Regions from separate parts of the Homo sapiens genome. Here region 2 is linked to region 1. The links are contacts of gene promoters, found by promoter capture Hi-C in blood cells and fetal thymus (Javierre and others, 2016). All regions are on one chromosome and are shown on one strand. The core of a region is centred on a gene start or on the middle of the fragment in contact, and the rest is flanking DNA. Distances in the headings are between cores, read along the strand shown. Region 1 holds the start of MDN1 (midasin AAA ATPase 1). Region 2 holds the start of ZNF292 (zinc finger protein 292).

Region 1 (4,600 bases), core at 89-2,588:
TATCTCGTGATCTGCCTGCCTTGCCTTGAGCCACTGCGCCCAGCCCACAAGTGCACTTTTAATGTTATGGACTCTACTATTTTTTATGACTTCCAGAATATGCTATAACTTACACCCCATAGTTTAATATTCCCAATTGAACATTTTCTTCCAATATCTGTATTAAGAAAACTGCAAGGGGTGTCTTTGTCACACTTAGTGAGGATTTCCGCAGGCTAGAGTCCTACAAGGGGAATTGCTGGGGCAGAATGTTAACTAGTTAGGTATGAGCAGAACAGGAGAGCGCTCCCCACCCCACACATACCAGGACTATTGGGTGACAATCAAACGATGGTCAGGCGGTTCTTAACTGTTTCTCTAACGTTCACCGGGGCCAGCGAAAGGCAGTCTCCTAATAGAAAACACCTGAAACTGATCAGTAGCTTCCCAGTAAGATCTCAGGAGTGGGGAGAAGCAATGCAAGTTCCCCAAAGTATGCCAACATATAAAACTTCAAGTCAACAGGTCAAGCTGCGCACTTGGTTTCTCAAGTCGCCTGCTTGGCAGTCTTCCAAGTTGTACTTTCCTCCTTTTCTTTCCGTCCCGTTCTAAAGCTTTTTGATAAACTTTTACTTCTATTCTGAAACTTGTCTAGGTCTATCCTGCCTTATGCCCTTCGTGGAATTATTTCTTCTGAGGAGGCAAGAACTAAGGTTACTGCTGACCCCTACCTATACAGGGGGTAACTGCCACCGCTAACAAGAAGGGGAGAATCAGCTTTTCTTTCTTTTTTTGAGACAGTAAAAGTCTGCTGTGTCGCGCGGCTGGAGTGCAGCTGCACGATCTCGGCTTACTGTAACCTCCGTCTCCCGGGTTCAAGCGATTCTCCTGCCTCAGCCTCCCGAGTAGCTGGGACTACAGGCGCGCGCCACCACGCCCGGCTAATTTTTGTATTTTTAGTAGAGAAGGGGGTTTCACCATGTTGCCCAGGCTGGTCTCGAACTGCTAACCTCAAGTGATCTGCCCTCCTCGGCCTCCCAAAATGCTGGGATAAAGACATGCGCCACCGCGCCCGGCCGAGAATCAGCTTTTCTCTCACATCTGATCTTTCCGTGTGTTAAGGCAGAAGCAAGGCACGGTGGGCTGAGACTCACACGCCCCCTCTTTCCTCCCCGGCCTAACGCACTCTTCTTTCTGTCCCACCACGTGCTGTGTTCGCGAGTCCCCATCACTCCTGCATCCAAACCGACTAGATTTTTGTTTCCATTTCCCTCCCGGAAAAGGCGGGACAGCGAAGACTGGCGTTTCCGCCGCTGAGGGGCTGAGGCCGGGAGGGCGCAGCGTAGCCGTCCCGAGCTGATGACGTCAAACGCCGTGTGCTCACCCACGTGTGGTGCCCCTCTCCCGGTGTAGGCGCTGGAGCTGAGGACGCCTTTCCTGCGGGCGTAGTTGCTGGCTGCTCGGGCACTGGGACCTCGGCGGCTTGGGGACGCTGGCCGCGAAGTAGGGAGCGCAGGTGGCCGCTCGGGGTGAGGGCCCTGGGTCATGGAGCACTTCTTGCTGGAGGTGGCAGCCGCGCCGCTGCGGTTAATCGCAGCCAAGAACGAGAAGAGCCGCAGTGAGTTGGGCAGGTTCTTGGCCAAGCAGGTAAGACGTGAAGGGAGAGGGAAAGCGCCGGAACGACTGGGTCGCCCCACTAGTAAGCTTCCTGCGCTCCCCCGCCGATACTCGCCGCTTTAAGTGGGGAGTGGTGCAGCCTCAGGTCAAGCTGGCCCCCTCCTGTGGGCTGGCGCAGGTCGTGGAGGTTTCCGAGCGTGTTTGAGGCGATTGGAAGGAGTCTTTTGTTTTTATCTGGGGGAGCCTTCCAGTACCCTTCCCATCGCCTCTCACCCCTATGCAAGCGCTTTGGCTGCTTGTGGCAGAGGTGGCCTTCCCAAAGGAATGTGGTTTGTTTTTCTGAAATTGAGGTTGCGTTTCTGCCGTTTTGACAAGTGTACGTATCACCTAAGTGTGCGTAGTGCAGCCACTCCTGTTAGTTTGGGGAACCATCGACAAATACTGATTGCATTCCTGCTGTGCGTAAGGAACGGTGTGGCGCTGTGAGAAAGTGGATAGATAAATTCGTTACGATCTCTGCCATGAGGGAAATTTGCATCTGTTTTTGGAGACAGTTCGTAAACACTTACAACAGCTGAAGTACAGAGCAAGACAGCTCATACTCACTGTAACTAACTATACAAATTATAAGGTTAATTAGAGTTTTCTGGGAAATAGGTCTTCGGGCTTTTAAGAACCTTCTCATTGACTCCTTCTATCTGAGTTGAAGACACTTTTTTTTTTTTTTTGAGACGGAGTCTCGCTGTGTCGCCAGGCTGGAGTGCAGTGGCGCGATCTCGGCTTACTGCACCCTCCGCCTCCCGGGTTCAGGCGATTCTCCTGCCTCACCCTCTCAGTAGCTGGGATTACAGGCGAGCGCCACCATGCCTAGCTACTTTTTGTATTTTTAGTAGAGACGGGGTTTCACCATGTTGGCCAGGATGGTCTCGATCTCTTGACCTCGTGATCCACCCGCCTCAGCCTCCCAAAGTGCTGGGATTACAGGCGTGAGCCACGGGACAGGTGAGTGTGGTCCCAGGTACTTGGGTCCCAGGTGTGGCTAATTAAAAAAAAAATTTTTTTTTTGTAGTTGTAAGGTCCCCCTTTGTTGCCCCGACTGGTCTGGAACCCCTGGGCTCAAGTGATCATCCCGCCTTGGCCTCCCAAAGTGCAGGGATTGTAGGAGTGAGCCACCGTGTCCGGCCTAAATTTTTTTTTTTTTTTTTTTTTTTTTTTGAGACGGAGGCACGCTCTGTCGTCCAGACTGGAGTGCAATGGCCCACCCTCTCAGCTCACTGCAACCTCCGCCTCTCGAGTTCAAGCGATTCTTCTGTCTCAACCTCCCGAGTAACTGGGATTACAGGCGTGCGCCACCATGCCTGGCTAATATTTTGTATTTTTAGTAGAGACAGGGTTTCACTGTGTGGGTCAGGCTGGTCTCAAACCCCTGATCTCAGGTGATCCACCCGCCTTGGCCTCCTAAAGTGCTGGGATTACAGGCATGAGCCACAGCGCCCTGCCCTGAAGTATTTTTTTTGATGTATCTCAAGCCCAATTGTTCTGGGGAGTGGGGCCAATTTTGCTCCCAGGGACAAATCTGGAGACCTTTATGGTTATCACAACTATTCATTATGGGGGTGCTACTAGCATCTAGTGCATCAAGGCCAGGGACGCTGCTAAGCATTCTGTTATGTATGGGACAACCCCTTACAACAGTTATCCGTCGTAAATGGCAGTGGTGCAAAATTAAGAAAGAAACCCTGCCCCAGACTGGTTGTTTACTTTCTGCTCAGGGCTTGCTATTTCAGCAACACTAAACTGCCTGCAATGACCACAGGTTGTTACCCTCTACTATTGTTGACTGGAGTCACCTCCCGTTGTTAATGTCTGTTGTTATTGTCTGGGCCATTCCTTGCTGTTACTTGCCTCATTGACTTTGCATTTCCTTTCCTTAGAAGGCTACATCTCTCTTCTATGCCCTGCTCAGTTAACTTGTTTGTTCTGGAAGACTGCTTTTGAAATGGTCTTCCCCAGGAAGACTTTTCTGACTTTACCCTTTCCTCTTCCTCTTAATCTTTGTTTCAACTAACTGATTCTCAGTAGTTGATTGAGAGTATGTCCAGAGAAGGGGATTGTGTAGCTGTAGTGTCCAATACAGTGTCTGATATGCAGTAGGCAGTAAATGTTTATTGACTGTATTAACAGATTAAGGTACTCCCAAATTGTGATACTTTTGTCAATGAAAAGTGTCAAACTCTAAAATATTCTAAGAGATTTATTCTGAGCTAAATGTGAGTGACCATGGCTCATGACACAGCCCCAGGAGATCCTGAGAAAATGTGCCCAAGGTGGTCGGGCTACAGCTTGGTTTTATACATTTTAGGGAGACCTAAGCCATCACTCAGTACATGTAAGATGTACATTGATTTGGTCTGGAAAGCTGGGACAACTCGAAGGGTGAGGGGGGCGGTCTTCCAAGTCACAGGTGGATTCAAAGATTTGCTGACTGGCAATTGGGTGAGAGTTCATTTAAATCCCTGGAATCAGTAGAATGGAGTGTCTAGGTTAAGATAGGGGTGTGGAGGCTGGGCACAGTGGCACGCGCCTGTAATCCCAGCACTTTGGGAGGCTGAGGCGGGTGGATCACAAGCTCAGGAGATCGACATCATTCTGGCTAACATGGTGAAACCCTGTCTTTACTAAAAATATGAAAAATTAGCTGGGCATGGTGGCGGGCACCTGTAGTCCCAGCTACTCAGGTGGCTGAGGCAGGAGAATGGCGTGAACCCGGGAGGTGGAACTTGCAGTGAGCTGAGATCGCACCACTGCACTCCAGCGTGGGTGACAGAGCGAGACTCTGTCTCAAAAAAAAAAAAAAAAAAAGATAGGGGTGTGGAGACCAAGGTTCATATTATGCAAATGAAGCCTCCAGGTAACAGGTTTCAGAGAGAACAGATTGCAAATGTTTCTTTTTTTAAAATTTTTATTATTTTTTAAAGAGATAGGATCTTGCTTTGTTGTCCAG
Region 2 (4,544 bases), core at 510-3,009, 2.7 Mb after region 1:
TAGCAAGACCCCATCTCTCAAAAATAAAATAAAATATATAAAAAAATTTAAAATTTATGACGGGCGCTCTACTATGCCCATCCTCTACTTACTCTTCCCTCCTCCCACTTAAGCTTTAAGCAAATTCTCATTTAAATAAGCAAAGGGGGGGCAGGTGGCTTATTTCCAGAATGAGCAAAACAACACTGTTAATAAGAAAAACATTTAATGCCTTTCGTTTCTATTCTGCTACTCAGAATTCAAAAAATCTATTAATCTTCTACCTCACTCAAAAATAAAAATCTATAAACTACGGATCATAAGCAACTCCTGTTTCTGTGGGTTTCACCACATTCTCCAGAAACTGAACTTTTGCTCATAAAAATTACATAGAATGTAAACTAATTCATTTTTTAAAGTAAATGCAAAACTAAGGGTTACACAAGCACTGAGCATCAACACTGACAGAATATTAATTCTGAAGCCCATTAACTTTGACAAACGTTTATTCATCTTTGCCTTCTTGAAGCGTGTGACTATCCCAGTTTTACAGGAAAAGCTTAAACAGAAAAAGTTAAATAATAATCTCAAGGTTAGAAACTAAGACATAATTTCTAGCTCCTAGTATCCCTGGTACTATATTTAGATTGCGCCAATAAATTCTTTAATTGTTAACCATTGCTTCACTCAACTTCGTATCAAAATGCTAGGTGATAATTGCTAAGATACAATTTTATTTTTATTTTTTATTTTTTTGAGACAGGATCTTTCTCTGTCACCCGGGCTGGAGTGTGCACAGTGCACCATCTCTGCTCACTGCAACCTCTGCCTCCCGGGTTCAAATGATCCTCCCACCTCAGCCTCGTAAGTAGCTGGGACTACAGGCACTCGCCACAGCGCCTGGCTAATTTTTTTGATTTGTTTTGTTTTTTGTATTTTTTGTAGAGAAGGGGCCACGCCATGCTGCTCAGGCTCAAGCGATCCGCCCAACTCGGCCTCCCAAACTGCTGGGATTACAGGTGTGAGCCACCTCCACCCCTGTAAATAAACATAAATAAACAATTGTTTCAAGTTACCTCCACTTGACAAGATCACTAACATAAATAGGTTACCTGAGAAACAAAACAAAAAACCCCACCCCAGAAAATGTTCCAGAGGAAATCAGACACACTCTGTATCGTTTCAAATGGAGATTACTTTTAAGTGTATTTAAATTATTCTGAGCTTACAGTGTATGAAATATTTTATAATTTTTGAAATCCACAAATCCAGCATTTGTTTCATTAGTGTTTGATGTTTTTTTGTCAGTAGCATCAATAACAATTTATGTGGCAAGACTAATCACTTAATGAAACTGATATAGGAAATTACTTTCATTCTGATTTTTAAAATGCTGTTTCACTCATTAAAAAACTCAAGTCTGGCGGGACGCGGTGCTCACACCTGTAATCCCAGCACTTTGGGAAACAGAGGTGGGTGGATCACTTGAGGTCAGCAGTTCGAGACCAGCAGTTCGAGACCAGCCTGGCCGACATACAGTGAAACCCCAAACCTCATCTCTACTAAAAACACAAAAATTAGCTGGGCTTGGTGGCGCACGCCTGTAGTCCCAGTTACTTGGGAAGCTGAGGCAGGAAAATCGCTTGAACCCAGGAGATGGAGGCTGCAGTGAGCTGAGATCGCACCACTGCACTCCAGCCCGGGTGACAGAGCAAGACTCCATATCTCAAAAATAAATAAATAAATAAAAATCTTTAAGTGATAACTTTACAACGTCACACACTCACAAAAAAGCGGGGGGGAGTCCAGCTTGCATGAGATTCTATTTTCCCAGAATTATTAATCCTGCTTACAAATACTGCTGACAAAAAAAGAATTTACAGTAATTAGCCTTAAAACTATCAGTGGACACTATTAGGGGAAAATGTCTTTCAGCAAAGCTAGACTTTAATAGTTTTCACTGATTATTATATAAAAACTGATTCGACTTACAAATGAAATACTTCCTATTATGGGTATCTTAGAGAAATTTTTTTATCTCTAAAATAAATCTTTAAAGACCAATTAAGAATGAGTGGGTACTGCAAAGTAGAGAAACTGAGAAATTTCAACAATTTTTAAATATTAAAATTCAAAGGAATGAGACTTTAATTTTGCCACAGGTACTCACCAGACCTATTTACCTAAGTAGGGAGCTTTCACATTGCACATCCTCCTAGACGTCACCACTTGATCTCACAGTTTTTGTTTTTAAGATTATGAACAGCCATCAAATAATTTGTGACAATAAAGTGCATACAGCAACGGAGATTCTTTTGTATGTGATCACGTATCCCCGACATAATAAAGAAAATATTTCAATATTTGGAAGCTAAAAAATAAGTGAAAATGTAATCTACTCAGCTAAAATGGTCAACCATTGTTCTACGTTAAGATCAGTATTTTTCCAAAACGAATTCTCTGTAATGATACACTCACAAGTTAACTCTAAATATGACCTGTGTAAATTGTGTCTTCTTTTTCCTCCTCAAGACAATCAAATCAAAGTCTTCACCAGAGCCAGCAACACTACCTTGAAATTTTAAACCTAAGTGTAAGGCTCGTAATGAAGTGCAAATGTAGTCCCAAACTCTCCGATTTTCACCATGGATGAAATGATTTTCATCACTAGCAAACAGTGTTATTAACATTCCAAATTCTGGTTAGAATGCAGTCACTGGTGAGCAGTGCCCTTGGGCAAGCAAAGAAAAGATTTGAAACTACCCAAAGCACAGATCCACATGAACCTCAGTCTTCTCCCACTTCATCAGGAAGCCAAATAGGAAGGACTCCAAGAAACAGGGGTGAGGGGGTGATCGGGACAGAAAGGATAGTGGAAATCATACTCCTCGAAGGGCGAAAGCAAATGAGAAACGGACTCTGGAAAAACCGCCCCAAAAGGACACTCAACCTGAGACAGATGTACAGGCACAGCTCCTCTACACTAAGGAGATAAAGCTTTACCACAGAAGTGATGCACCAAGCAAGCAAGTATGGGCAGGAGGGGACAACCTCCGCCAAGCACCCCCTCCCGAACGTCTAGCTCAACTAGAAGGGGTCGGCGGGGACTGCTCCTCCGAACATCAACAAAGGCCCCTTCAGTCCTAAGGCGAAACTCGAACAACAAAGGCCCGGAGACAGCCAGGACAGGGCCGGGGCTGGGGGGCGGGACGGATGAAAGCAGGGGAAGGCAAAGGAATCAAACCAGTGGGGGCGGAGGCCCGTCGGAGTGGGAAGCAGAGGCGCAGAGGCGGGAGGCGCGGTAATCCCCAGTGCACAATAAAAGGAGGAGGAGGAAGAGAACCTGGCCTCCATTCTCCTACTCTCTCCAATCCGCACCGTGTACATTTCCTCAGCCGCGGGGACCGCGCAGTCCCGAGTTCAGGGAAGGAAAGGGGAGGGGGGATTTTCCGCCTTGACCGCAACTCCCTTCCCCCAGCCAGGAGCTGCAGACGACAACAACCGCCACAACTGCAGCCACACAAAGGCGCCTTCCTTCTACTCCCGCTCCCACCCAGGCGGAGGCGCCGATGATGCCAAGGAAGCGGCGACCACCTCTCGGCCGCCTAGCGCTCGCTCGCCCTCTTCCCCCTCTAGCTGGGGAAAGGGGGAGGGGACCACCGGGCGCCCTCACCTGGCACAGCTGCTGACAGTAGTCGGTGGCCGCTTCCACGGCCGGTACCCGGCTCTCCCGCAGCTGTAGCTCCAGCTCCTGGAGCCGCTCGCCCAGGCGCTGCAGCTCCGCGACGCAGCCGCCTTCGCCGCAACTCAACCTCTCCTGCTCGGCCTCTTCGTCCGCCATCTTCACACCCCGCTCCGTCGCGTACGCACCTGGGTCACGTGATAACACAATGCCACGTTCGGCGGGGTCACGTGCCGGGCGCGCTTGCACGGCGCCGAGCACGTACAAAGGGCCCGATGGGGAAGATATGGGGGTGGGGAGAGTGGCGCGAGAGAGCCCGAGGGAGGTGAAGGCAAGGGGAAAGGAGAAGGGCGGGGTTGGGGCGGTGCGGAAAACGGCGGTTTACTTACCCCGAGCGGGAAGTGGGCAGCAGCGGCCGAAAGGGGCGGGCTGGTGAAGGCCTGCTCTCGGTCACGTGGGCGCCGCGACGGGAAAAAGCCTAGGGAGGGGCGACCCTCTCCGGCGTCCCGATCCCGGCGTGGCTTTCCCCAGTCCACGAAGTCTTCTACGGACATATCCTCCTGTTCCCCAAGAGGATGGCACAGGGAGAGTTCTGAGTGGTCTCGGGCAATGGCTGCATTTGCTGTTGGCCTGTAAGCAGGCCAGAAGCAGAGGAAGAGAGAGAAGGTAAAACCCGCCCATGGACCGCAAGCGTGAGAGCCAAGGCAGGACTATGAACTGTCAAAATTGTCTCTGACTTCTCACCAGGCCGGAGAGGAGGGATCTAGTGCGTGAGGTACCAGATCTCGTCTCACTTGACTCTCCTCCTCTTCAGCACCAAGAACGCCTGTCCCCTGGAAACACATTCTCTAGGGGGTGGAGGCAACAAAGGAAAAGAACAATT

Evidence for each region. The method cuts DNA at HindIII sites, captures the fragments that hold promoters and counts their contacts. A CHiCAGO score of 5 or more calls a contact.
Region 2: a fragment that was not itself captured here is called in contact with the fragment with the promoter of MDN1 in region 1 in 1 of 17 cell types (fetal thymus); the score reaches 10.4 in fetal thymus.

The regions. Positions count from the first base shown.
Region 1 is chr6:89,816,532-89,821,131 of GRCh38, reverse strand. MDN1 (midasin AAA ATPase 1) reads left to right here and starts at 1,338. Exons shown (of 102, transcript NM_014611.3): 1 at 1,338-1,626. The coding sequence starts at 1,525. RefSeq lists enhancers at 401-1,020, 1,021-1,640, 1,295-1,684, 2,261-2,880, 2,881-3,500 and 1 more. The HindIII fragment of the contact is 1,090 bases long and covers 596-1,685 here.
Region 2 is chr6:87,154,868-87,159,411 of GRCh38, reverse strand. ZNF292 (zinc finger protein 292) reads right to left here and starts at 3,847. Exons shown (of 8, transcript NM_015021.3): 1 at 3,653-3,847. The coding sequence starts at 3,820. LOC124901355 (translation initiation factor IF-2-like) reads left to right here and starts at 4,165. Exons shown (of 2, transcript XM_047419630.1): 1 at 4,165-4,436. RefSeq lists enhancers at 2,421-3,028, 3,540-3,879, 4,150-4,309. The HindIII fragment of the contact is 2,438 bases long and covers 541-2,978 here.